Regions from separate parts of the Homo sapiens genome. Here region 1 is linked to region 2. The links are contacts of gene promoters, found by promoter capture Hi-C in blood cells and fetal thymus (Javierre and others, 2016). All regions are on one chromosome and are shown on one strand. Each heading gives the region's core, a stretch centred on a gene start or on the middle of the fragment in contact. The rest is flanking DNA. Distances are from core to core; before and after follow the strand shown. Region 1 overlaps MORC1 (MORC family CW-type zinc finger 1). Region 2 holds the start of CD96 (CD96 molecule).

Region 1 (6,304 bases), core at 2,831-5,330, 2.5 Mb after region 2:
TTCGTGATTGGCATTAGTGTATTTATAAAGGAGGTCCAAGAGAGACCCCTTATCCCCTTCTCCATGTGATGTTCAAGTGAGAGACAGCCATCTAAGAACCAGGAAGCAAGCCCTCACCAGACTCAGAATCTGGCTGTGCCTTGAACTCGGACTTCCCAGTCTCCAGAACTGTGAGAAATAAATGTGTTATTTATAAGCCACTTAGTCTATAGTATTTTGTTAAAAGCAACTGAATGGACTAAGACACAGGCTAACACGATTTGACAATTAGAAATAGGATTAGTGCCCAACAGAGAAGAATGAAAACTGCAGAAACCAGTGGCCAGGAGCCCACAGTCTGTAGGCCGGGGAAGGCCTCCCTGAGGAAGTGATATTCCTAAAGGTTGGGGAGGGGTTAGCTGGGTCTCCTGAGTTCTTCCTGCTTGGGGCCCAGGAGGATAGGCCTAAAGCTTTTCCAAATGGCAGCCCCCCCAGGTATTTGAAGACAAGATTATGTCTCTCTTCAGTCTTTGTTTAATCTTGACTAACACTTCCAAGTTCAAGAATAGTAATTATTCTTCATTTGACATGGTATTAAATATATTTACCGTCCTAGTATTGTATTTTAAAGTGTATCATCTGGAAACAAAATGTGCCAGATGAAACCTGAACAGCCTTGACTGAAATGGGATCCTCATCTTTCTTTTGAGTTGTTGGAATCTTATTGGTACACCTAATAATATGTGAACTCTCCGTAAACACATTATTGACCCTCAGTGTCCCCCTTACCATTAAAGTTTTTAACAAAAATATTAATATGTGTTCTTGTAAAGCCATACCTCTCTTTTCTTATTTTTTCCAGTAAGTGGTTTTGAGCCCTAGTGTAGAATCATACATTTATCCCTCGTAAAGTTTATCGCCTTATTAGGCCTCATTCTTTCAGGTTGTAATGACCTTTTTTTTGGAATCTAATGCTAACTTCTAACTAATGTGTTATATTCCCAGATTTACGTAAAGTCTGGCTAGTATTTTCTCTATGACTTCATGTAAACCCTGTTGCATAGGACAGGAAAATCAGACCCTGGCCTTCTATCAGTGATCTCCACTGAGTAAAAGTGGGTACCTTGGGACATGTTTTCCTGATTATGCTATCACCTAACCCTTGTCAATTACCCAGTTTGTGCATAATTTTGAAAGTGAGAAATAATATTTGTTACATGAATATTTTCCTTAAAACATAGACAATGCTGTAGTACCTGGATGTAGCTAGTTGCTCACAACAGAATTTTGTTTTCCATATGATGCAATTTAGTCTCTAAGATCTCAGAAAGGGACTACCAGGAAAATGAATATAACAGCTTTGCTAAGGATACACGTCGAGTGATGAAGCAAATATTAAAAGGTGAGAATATGAGACAAGTTTATTTGCAGATGTAGTCTGAGAAACAGTTCATATCTTTTTAATTCAGTTTTTGAAGTTAAAGATTTTATGTATGTACCCGTTTTACTTAAAAATATTATCAATATTATATTTTATATTACTTTTAAATTTATTATGGTGTTATAGGCTGAATTGTATTCCTTTCAAATTCATAAGTTGAAGCCCTAGCTCCCAGTAGCTCGGGCTGTATTTGGAGATAGGGCCTTTAAGAAATAGTTAATTTAAAATGGAGTCGTTTGGGTGGGCCCTAATGCAGTCTGACTAGTGTCCTCATAAGAAGAGGAAATTCATACACAAAGAGACATACCAGGGATAGGTGCACACAAAGAAAAAAACATGTGAGGACACAGGGAGAAGGTGACCATCTGTAAGCAAAGTAGGGAAGCCTCAGAAGAAACCAAGCCTGCCAATACCTTGATCTTGGGCTTCCAGCCTCCAGAATAGTGAGAAAATAAATAAACTTCTGTTGTTTAGGCCGCCCAGTCTGTGGTATTTTTTCACGGCAGCCCTAGCAAACTAATACATATGGGAGATTTCAAAATTAGAATTAAAGAGAATATTATAATGAAACTCTATAAACCCATCAGCCAGCCTCAGTGATCAACTTGTAGGTGAACTGGTTTCATCTGTAGCCCAACTATTCCCCCACAACTGGATTATGAAGGCAGTCTCAGACCCTGTATAATTATATCCCTAAGTATTTTAGCATTCATTTCTAAAAGTAAGTACTGTTTAAAAACCACATTACAAATATCATTACCTAAAAGTTATTACCTTCTTAATATAATAAAATATCCAGTCTGTTGTTCATATTTCTAATTATCTCCTGTCATAAACTGCAAGGTTCTTTCTCTATCGCTGTCTCACACTCTCTCCCTCTTCCACTCCCCTCCTCTCTGTTCTTCCTTAAGTTTATTTGTAAGAAAACCAGATTGGTTGTCTTATAGTTATCACACAGTCTAGATTTTGCTCACTGCATTACTAGGAGTAGTTCAACAGGTTCTTCCATTGTGTTCATTTTTATTTAAATTGGTAGACTAGCAGCTTGCCCATTCAGATGTGGCTTTTTGTCAAGATGTTTCATAGGTGGTAGTGTGTTCTTCCATTGTGAGGCTGATTGTCTCTCTTTTAATGATATTAGCAGTCATGATCAATGCGTAGATTCCTTAGGAGTTCAAAAAATTATATTCTCATTCTATTATGTTTTCTTCATCAGCTCTAATACTTCTATAAGGAAAAACTGTCTTTCATCTACTACTTGGTTACCCTTGTTGGTATTTTTACTGTTTAACAGAAGCAACTGAACTCTATACTGCTAAAGAATTGCTTTGGATAAAAGCTTGATGTGAAAAGAGTAAGAGACAATTAAAAGATTAAAATATGATATAGACATTTTGCCTAATTGATTTACATGACATAAATATGTACTCTGTTTAAAATAATTACTTCATGTCAGCTCCCAGCAAATAAAAAGATGGTTCAGGAGTTCATCAAATTGACTGTTGGAAAAAAAAAACCACATTCTTAGATTTAATTCATTTACATTGCTTTCAGCTGGTAATTGAAATTACTACCATTGAAAGCACTTATGCTTCCTTTCTGACTGTACCTGTATTATCATGATAATGACATTTTTTACATCTACAATGAAGTTTTTTGCTAAAATATCTCCGAGGATCTCAGCCGTATTGCAAATAAAATACTAAAAAGTTTAGGACCCTTATTCTTTCTGGAATTCAATAAAATTTGATTCTTATAGTTTGATTTTTCCCTGCCATACCTAAAGGAAGACCTCAAAACTCTCCTCATCAGCCTGCTTAAGAAGAGTAAGTTATATTTAATGAGTCTGAATTTAAAACTGCAATCAGAAACCTAATGTACAATATGAGGACTGTAGGTAATACAGTTGTACTGTATATGGGAGTTTGTGGTTTGGTAAACAGTTCACTTCCCTGTAATAAAGCAGCTCACAATGCATCTTTGAAGTAATATGCTGAGATTCATCTTTTAAACGTGTACATGTAAACTCTTTCCATTATGGCTTTAAACACAATGGTAAGGAATGTCTTTGAAAATCATGTTTTAAACACTTGCTTATGAAGTTCACAGTTTGCTAAATGGTTCATTTCACTATAATAAAGCAGCTCACAATGCATCTTTGAAGAAAAAAAAGTACTGTATATGGGACTTACACTGAGTAGGTTTTAGCTGCTCTTGCTACAAAAACAAGAAAAATAGGTAGCTGTGTGAAATGGATATATTAATTTATTTCACTGTAGTAACCCTTTTACTATCTGTATGTATCCTATAACACATGTTGTATACTTTAAATACACACAATAAAGTTTATTTTAAAATATTCCTCTAATCCATTAAAAATAAAATAATGTAGACAATTAAGCATACATTGTATTAATAAAAATCAAATATGGGTCTTTAGGCTTTTAGGAGCATTAGTTTAGTCAGTAGGCTTCATGTATATCTTGAGTAAGGAGAGTTCTAGTAGAAAGGTAGTCTAACCCAGGTATTGGGGACACATACAGAGCTGACTAGGCTATTGCCCATGATAACACAGAATTCCTTAGGAATACACTTTGGACTTGATTTTTATGTCTAGTTTTGATTTCCACATTTTAGAGGGAAACTGGAATATATCCAAAGGAGAGCAGTGACAATGACTAAATAAAAATATAACCTAAAAAAAGAAGGTCAAATTTATTTCTTCTTGAAGAAAGAACCAGGAGAAACATAATTTTCCCCAGTGTTGTTTTTGAAGATTTGCCGTAATGAGGCCTGTAGCCCTCTCCCTTCTAGTCTCCACGCACAGCATCATGTGGTTCCCAACTGGGAGCCAAAATGCCCTAGGGAATCTCAGAGTATACCAGGGAGTCCATGAATTCCTAAGTCTACAAATAATTGTCTAAGATGGCGTTATGCCTCATACATCTATATGCTATAGATTTTTATATGTATAGAGATGTAGTTGTGGGTAGTAAAATATAAAATTACTCAGTGTTATTAAATTCATAATTTGTTTATTTTTTGTCATCATATATTTTCTTAGGTTGAGGGTGGGGGTTCTAAAAGTTTCTTGCAGCATACGGAGGTCCTCACACTTAAGAAGGTGGGTAACCAGTGATACGGAACTAGAGAAAATGATGCTACATGGCCATGTCAAATGAGGAAGCTGACATTTGGAGTGAATTGGGCCAGCTGCAGACTACTGGAGTTTTGCAGGGGAGCGTACTGTGCTTACAGTAGAGTGGAGAAGTGGAAATGTTCTGACAGCAGCTGCCACATAACTTTTGCCACTGACTGGACTCATAACATGAGACTAGCACAACCGCATGCCACCATACCCAGGAGCCAAGAGAAAGGGAAGAAGGACTGTAGCATCTTCACCACCACTGAATATATCTTGTCTTGCTTTTTTTCACTTCAAGTAGACCACCTTGGGAAGTGAAAAACAAACAGGGATAGCAAATAGGCCTCAATTACCCTTGCACCACACACTAAATCATCATGGCAATTCTTCCTGATAAACGGCAGTTGGCCTCATGGTTCTTCTCAACAGTGTACCAGGCATCATTACCAACTGATTGGAGTTGACATTATCAATTGAAACCAGTTTGTCATCCCTAATCCAGAGCTTTCATTAAGAACAAAGATGATAAGCGATCCCACCTTGGACCAGATTAGGAAGGGTCTGATGCCTGGCTGTTACATTAGCTTTAAATGAGAGGGGTAATGACAAACAGGACAGTATTCAACAGAGGAGGAAGAGTGATTTAACTGTTCCCTGAGAAAAGGTATGAAATTTCGATCTCAGGAGATCTTTAGAATATAATCATCTATTTAGATGCAGAACCACCTGAAAGTGGGAACTGATTTAACATTCTCCAGGTATACCATTTTTCTGGTGCTTTGAGTTTATAAACTGTTTCAGGCCTCCTTATTTTGATGGAGACCATCAAAGCTTTGCTGTGGTAGTTTACTATTGAATTTGATTGAGTCTCTCCTAGGCTCACTGATTCCCTGAATGTCATTGTATGTTCTATGAACAGATACAAAACTGACATCTAAGAGGATGTTGTATTTCTTTTTCTTTTTTTTTTTTTTTTGAGACAGAGTCTCACTCTGTTGCCTAGGCTGGAGTGCAGTGGCATGATCTCCGCTCACTGCAACCTCCACCTCCTGGCTTCAAGCAATTCTCCTGCCTAAGCCTCCCAAGTAGCTGGGATTACAGATGCCCGCCACCACACCTGGCTAATTTTTTGTGTTTTAGTAGAGACAGAGTTTCACCATGTTGGTCAGGCTGGTCTTGAACTCCTGACCTTGAATGAGCTGCTCACCTCAGCTTCCCAAAGTGCTGGGATTACAGGCATGAGCCACCATGCCCCACACATTTCTCTTATTTTTAAGAGGCAAAATATGTGTCAGCTGCTCTTGTAGTTACTGGTTTTTGGCAAATTTTCAGTAAATTATTGCAGTATTTCCTTTTTTTTTTTGAGGTGGAGTCTCGCTCTGTTGCCCAGGCTGGAGTGCAGTGGCGTGATATCGGCTCACTGCAAGCTCTGCCTCCTGGGTTCACGCCATTCTCCTGCCTCAGCCTCCCAAGTAGCTGGGACTACAGGTGCCCGCCACCATGCCTGGCTAATTTTTTGTATTTTTAGTAGAGATGGGGTTTCACTGTGTTAGCCAGGATGGTCTGGATCTCCTGACCTCGCGATCCGCCCGCCTCAGCCTCCCAAAGTGCTGGGATTACAAGTATTTCCCTTTTTTTTTTCCCCAGGTGCTTGGTTTAAAGAGGCTCCTGAACAATTCATTAGATTAATTTAAATATTAGGAATCTACTGAATAAAGTATTCCATACATAGCTGGCAG
Region 2 (5,538 bases), core at 1,156-3,655:
ATAGCAATTTCTTTGAAAAATACATGTTTACAAGGGCCTTTCATATCTTATCTTGTTTAATCCCCCTCACACGCCATAGGTGATGTTGTTAACCCCTTTTTATGAGGAAGAAACTGGGCCACAGAGAGATGAAACAGTATGCTCAAAGTCACACCTCCAGGCCTGGCGCAGTGGCTCACGCCTGTAATCCCAGCACTTTGGGAGGCTGAGGTGGGCAGATCATGAGGTCAAGAGAACCAGACCATCCTGGCCAACACGGCAAAACCCCGTCTCTACTAAAAATACAAAAATTAGCTGGGCGTGGTGGTGCACGCCTGTAGTCCCAGCTACTTGGGAGGCTGAAGCAGGAGAATCGCTTGAACCTGGGAGGCGGAGATTACAGTGAGCCGAAATCATGCCACTGCACTCCAGCCTGGCAACAGAGTGAGACTCCATCTCAAAAAAACGAAAAACGAAACAAAACAAAAAAAGTCACACCTCCAGTAAAAGAATGAATTCAGTTGCCCAGAGTCTGTGGTCTTTCTATAACCCTCATAAGTATAACAGTAAAACTCCAGCCAAGGAAGACAAAGAGACCTTTAGAGACCAAAGAGAACTTTATTTAATTCAGGCATCCAGGCCCACAGCAGACTCATGCCCAAAATGGCTGCTGACTCTGACAAAGAAAGCAGGCTTGCTTATATGTCGTTTGAGGTGGGAAAACAAGGCAGGATACAGGTTTCAGGCAAAGACAGTAAATTATTTAACCCGTGACAATTCTGAGAAAACTTACAATTTAGTTATCTTAACCAGTCAATCTTGAAGCTAGACAGAGATGGGGTAAGGTAAAACAGGAGTTACAGAAATATGTGGGGGTCTGGGGGCAGGCAAGAAGCTTGGAAGGTTGAGATAAGCTCACAGCTGCAACTTGTTAGCAATGCTGGGAGGGGCTACTTAAATTTCTTAGCCTACATATAACTTCTAAGTAACCTATACTTAATGTTAACTATTACCTATGTTATGCTTATTATTTTAAACTTTATTATTACTTATTTTATTTTATTTTCCTTCCACATAACTTCCAAACTGTCTCCCAAATTCAGTCTAGTTGATTAGAGTAAGAAATTTCACTTTCAATATACAAGGATTGAAAGGACCTCATCTAACCTTAGGTAGAGGTTCCACTTAGTATCACCTCTAATCGATGGTCTGAAATACTAGACATAAGTAGAGTCTCTTTCCCATCAGCAGTCTGACTGAGTGATACAGGACACTTAAAATGTGTTAAGCATTGAGACTGTGACATGCCTTCAATAGTGTTGGCCTCAGTTTTAGAATTAACATGGAATCCTGTTACAGAAATGATATATATTATTGTGACAAGTACCACTGAAGCTCACAAAAGGAAAAGATAAAAAGATGACAAGCAACTGAGAAGAAACAAGCCTCTTAAAAGTAAAAGTACTTGACAAATGGGAATTATCATACTTCTGTGGATGCAAAAGTTTGGTAGGCAGAGGTTAGTACAGTTTAATGTAACTTCCTGTGAGCTATCCTTTGCCTGAAAATATGGCTCTGATCCTATCTACAGCATTATATTCCAAATCTCTTTTGATTTAGAAATTCTCCTTAATATTTTCATAGCTATGTCTGAAAAGCACAGTTAATTCTTAAGACACTCAGGCTTACTATGATACTCTCATACTGTGGAATACAGAACTAATCTTGCTTCCTTCTCTTTTTAAATAGGCCCATTAGGCTCTCGTTCCCACTGTCATAAGGATTCCACTTTGTCTCCCAGGTTCATACCTACACATGCCTCATTAAAATTCAACGTGTTTTCAACTCCCAAAGACCTTAGTATTTGGATGAGAAATACTTGTTATATCCAAAAGAAAGAGAGTACTTGAGAGAGAAAAAAGTTAAACAAGGATCTCTGAGCGTTGATGGCTTTGTAATTTTTAATTTTTCCGCAGTTGTTTTGGCTACCATTTGGAGAGCATTTCATTTCCAAGAAACACAATTTGCCAATTACTCCAGAGATCCTGTTAGAAAGGAAATGGGTGAAAATGCCTCAGAGCAGTGGCACAAATGACCCATTCCCTTCTTATTTTTAGTGTTCATTAGTAATCATTTCTAGATTCTAGCATCTCTCTTATACCTGCCGCTTAAATACATAACTGAAACCCTTAGTAATGATTTGTCCTTTGGTGATCAATTTCAGCAGCAGTCACAAGGCATTTTAAATGAACAGAGGCCCCATCCGCCCCTAAAGCGGCCCATCCGACAAGAAGGGACAACTGGAAGTCTTACCCTTGACAAAATGTATCTGGATGATGTAATAGACAGCACAGTATTTCCATTTTTTCTCCATTGTCTTCTGAACACCTTACACCAGCATTTCTGTAATGATCACAAAGTCAATTGATGTTTTCAAGCAAACTCCAGCCACCCACTTCGTGCTAAAAAACCCGAACTCTACCACACACGCCTGGGTCTGTTTATCACTTGGCAAGCCCCCAGGAAATGAAACGTAGACAGGAAAGTAATGTGGTTCAGGACTGAGTATAACGTTCGACAGAACAATGTTGAAATTGTTCTCTGAAATTTGTGTATCACCTTATTTAAGAGACTTTTCAGTATCCAAAGAGTCTCTTATTCAGGATCTCTGTGTCAGTCAAGCTGCGTCTAAAATCCAAACAAAGGATATCACGCAGAGCAGTTGGCAATGTGCTTTTTATACATTTTTTTCAAGAGCACAAAGTCATTTAACAAATGTGAGCTTGGTGTTTTTCATAATAGTTTTTCTGTTCAATCTTAAGATATGTTTTCTTTCCAGAATTGCCCTGGGGTGAAAGAACAAAGAATTAACACATTTAATTTTAATAAAATCTGAAAAGTAACAGGGAATAGTGTCAGCTATCAAACCAAATTTTATTGTCTCTCCTCTTGCAGGGAAATGCACATTTCCTGGGAGTGGAGGAGTGAGGGCTACTTTTCTACCCCTCGTCTGGGAAGACGAGGGAAGGTTGGAGGTCAGATAGGGAAGTCTCCCACCAGGTTGGCTGGAGGCCATTTTTGTTCACCACAGAAGAGTTTATCCATGCCTAAGCCAAAGCAAGGCAGTAACAATCAGAATCCAAAGGCAGAGAATTCCCACCTCAGTGAGCTATTAGGCTTATTACATCTGCCTAGTTACTTCTATTTACAGAGAACCGCAAACAGGTTTCAGGAAAGTGACCCCTTGGTAAAAATGTCTGGCTATTCGTAGAACACGATGACTGTTCCCTGCTATGATTCTCTGATTTAATTGTATTAGTTTTTCAGCCTGAGATAAAATAGGCTGTCATCACCCTCCAACATTAAGAAAACAAGCATTAGACTGAGGACTACTGTAAGTTTGATGGACAAAGAATAACTACAAATAAACATGTGTGTCTTCATACAACCGTATGAATGATTAAAATATCCTGTGACCCTAATCTCATTACTAGAATATACGTACCACCTAGCAAGACCAAAGACAAATGAAAAGGCCAGTTGTAATCCTGAGATGGGAATTCTTTTCAGGTGAGGTGGAGATAATTTTCGTCAGGTTGTCATCATGTATACACCAATCTCTCCTATGCAAGGACTCGTGGTGAATATGGACGATGCTAAGACAGAAGGAAATGCTTTTGCCATTCAGGAGATTAAATTTAGATGGGAGAAGAGAGGTTTTCATGTAAATAAACAAGGGCGACTGTCTTCCTGGACGTCCAGATCACCCCCTATACCACCACTGCAAATACTTGCCATGATAATTGCCATACTTATTCAGTATTCCTCAGCTAATGATTTCTTGCAGAATTTAGATGTAGTTACTGCTTGCCTAGTCCAGTGCTCCCCAAACCTTTATTATCACCCCTTCCCAACTTCCCATGAGTTTCAGGTCACTGGGGATATTGGGTCAGGTAGTACTGACAGTGATTTTCCAGGGAAGGCCTGGGAACTCAAAGTCCTTTATAGAAGGTCAGGAAGAGACATAACTGCTCTGGGTAGCTTCATCTCTTCCCATTGCCCCTGGAAATTCTAGTAAATCAAAGTTTTATGAAGCATAGCAGCAAAAATAGTCCTGGAGATGCACTATGAAGATCCTGATTTGCACGTTGGTGTCCCTATTAAATCAGGACACATTACAAGCCTGGAGAAGGGATTCTATGATCTCGTTCCATTTTTCATATTAAGAGGAATTTACCTAAGTAGAAACCAATTCAAATATACATTTATTGAATTCTCTAAGAACAATACCCTCTTTGGGGTATTTAGACTTCTCCTATCTTTTATTGTATTAAAGTGAAACAGTTGTTCCAAAAAAGTCTGTAAACTCAGAAACATGGAAATGGTCGTTTATTTTCCAGTGCTACAGACTTACTTTCAGTAGAATTCTTGCCTCTCATTGGGGTTGGGCTACCTGAGCCATGCATTTAGTGGCTATACGGCAAATCTGTCTTCTGTGTATTGTTCAGGGCTTAGTTAATGATTCTTATATCTAGAAACTTCTATGGCCTGAAGCCATCAGATTTGATTAATTTTTCTTTGGGATCCACACAGGTTCTGAAAGTATAACAATTTCAGATGCATGGCCACAGAATATTAACTGAACGCTTACACTTCGGGTGTCCTGCAGCTGCAAGACCCAGGCAACAGCCCCTCCATGGCTGTTTGCATGCAGCAGGTGGCAGCAACACTCCGCAGACTGGCACGGCTATCCCAGGTGATGGGAATTGCCCCCACCGCCTTTCAATCCTGGTAATATTTTCTAAAGGCTCTTTCAGCATGGGGATAGACAGGCGTTCTCTATACTTAAAAATAACTCTTCTATGGAAGTCATGTCAATCTCTTCTATTATCCTCCCTACCCACCATATCCCGATTGCACAGGGTTTCTTCTGCCTTATAGTCTGCTGCACATAAGGAGAAAACAGAAGCAAGTCAGTTTCACACACAAAAAGAAATCGTGATCTTCTTGAACTGCAGAGGCAAATTCAATTATTTACAAAGAGAAGCAGGAACACACATTATTTCTGCTAAAGGCAAGCCATGATTGTGTGTTTTGGACAAACTTTTTAAATGCTCTAGCTAAACACACTCAGTGAGAAAAGGACATTTTCAGAAACAGGAAGTTGAGCAAAAGGTAAACTTACTTTTGTGGTTTTCATAATGGTTAACTCAAATATTACTTACTTATCTTTAAACACTTACTAAAAATAAAAATGGGAGTGCTATACTTTTGCATGTTTTCCAAAATGCTTAGAAAACATGATGGTTAAGGTTTCAGTTAATTAAAAAATACTTGCTGTATGTCAATTCTTAAGAGATTACTGAAGAGGCATAGTTCTAGATAATTTTAAAATACCAAAGATAAAACACAACCCTCAGTTTTAAGGCAGTTACCATTTAGCTGGGAGGAAGCATCCATGTGCACCAAAAAAGTCAAGCAGCATAAAGCACAGCCCAAATGAGAAGGTAGGGCAGGATTTTAGCAAAGGGGGAGTTATCTTAGGGGTAGAGTGGGCCA

What was found. The method cuts DNA at HindIII sites, captures the fragments that hold promoters and counts their contacts. A CHiCAGO score of 5 or more calls a contact.
Region 1: a fragment that was not itself captured here is called in contact with the fragment with the promoter of CD96 in region 2 in 1 of 17 cell types (naive B cells); the score reaches 11.7 in naive B cells.

The regions. Positions count from the first base shown.
Region 1 is chr3:109,044,182-109,050,485 of GRCh38, reverse strand. All of the region lies in intron 14 of MORC1 (MORC family CW-type zinc finger 1), which reads left to right. Among named protein-coding and RNA genes, the nearest start is that of MORC1-AS1, 54 kb to the left of the region's middle. The HindIII fragment of the contact is 2,637 bases long and covers 2,762-5,398 here.
Region 2 is chr3:111,539,064-111,544,601 of GRCh38, reverse strand. It overlaps CD96 (CD96 molecule), which reads right to left and starts at 2,405. Exons shown (of 14, transcript NM_005816.5): 1 at 2,293-2,405. The coding sequence starts at 2,353. It overlaps LOC105374039 (a long non-coding RNA gene), which reads right to left. Exons shown (of 3, transcript XR_001740846.1): 3 at 2,599-2,667. The HindIII fragment of the contact is 7,700 bases long and covers 877-5,538 here.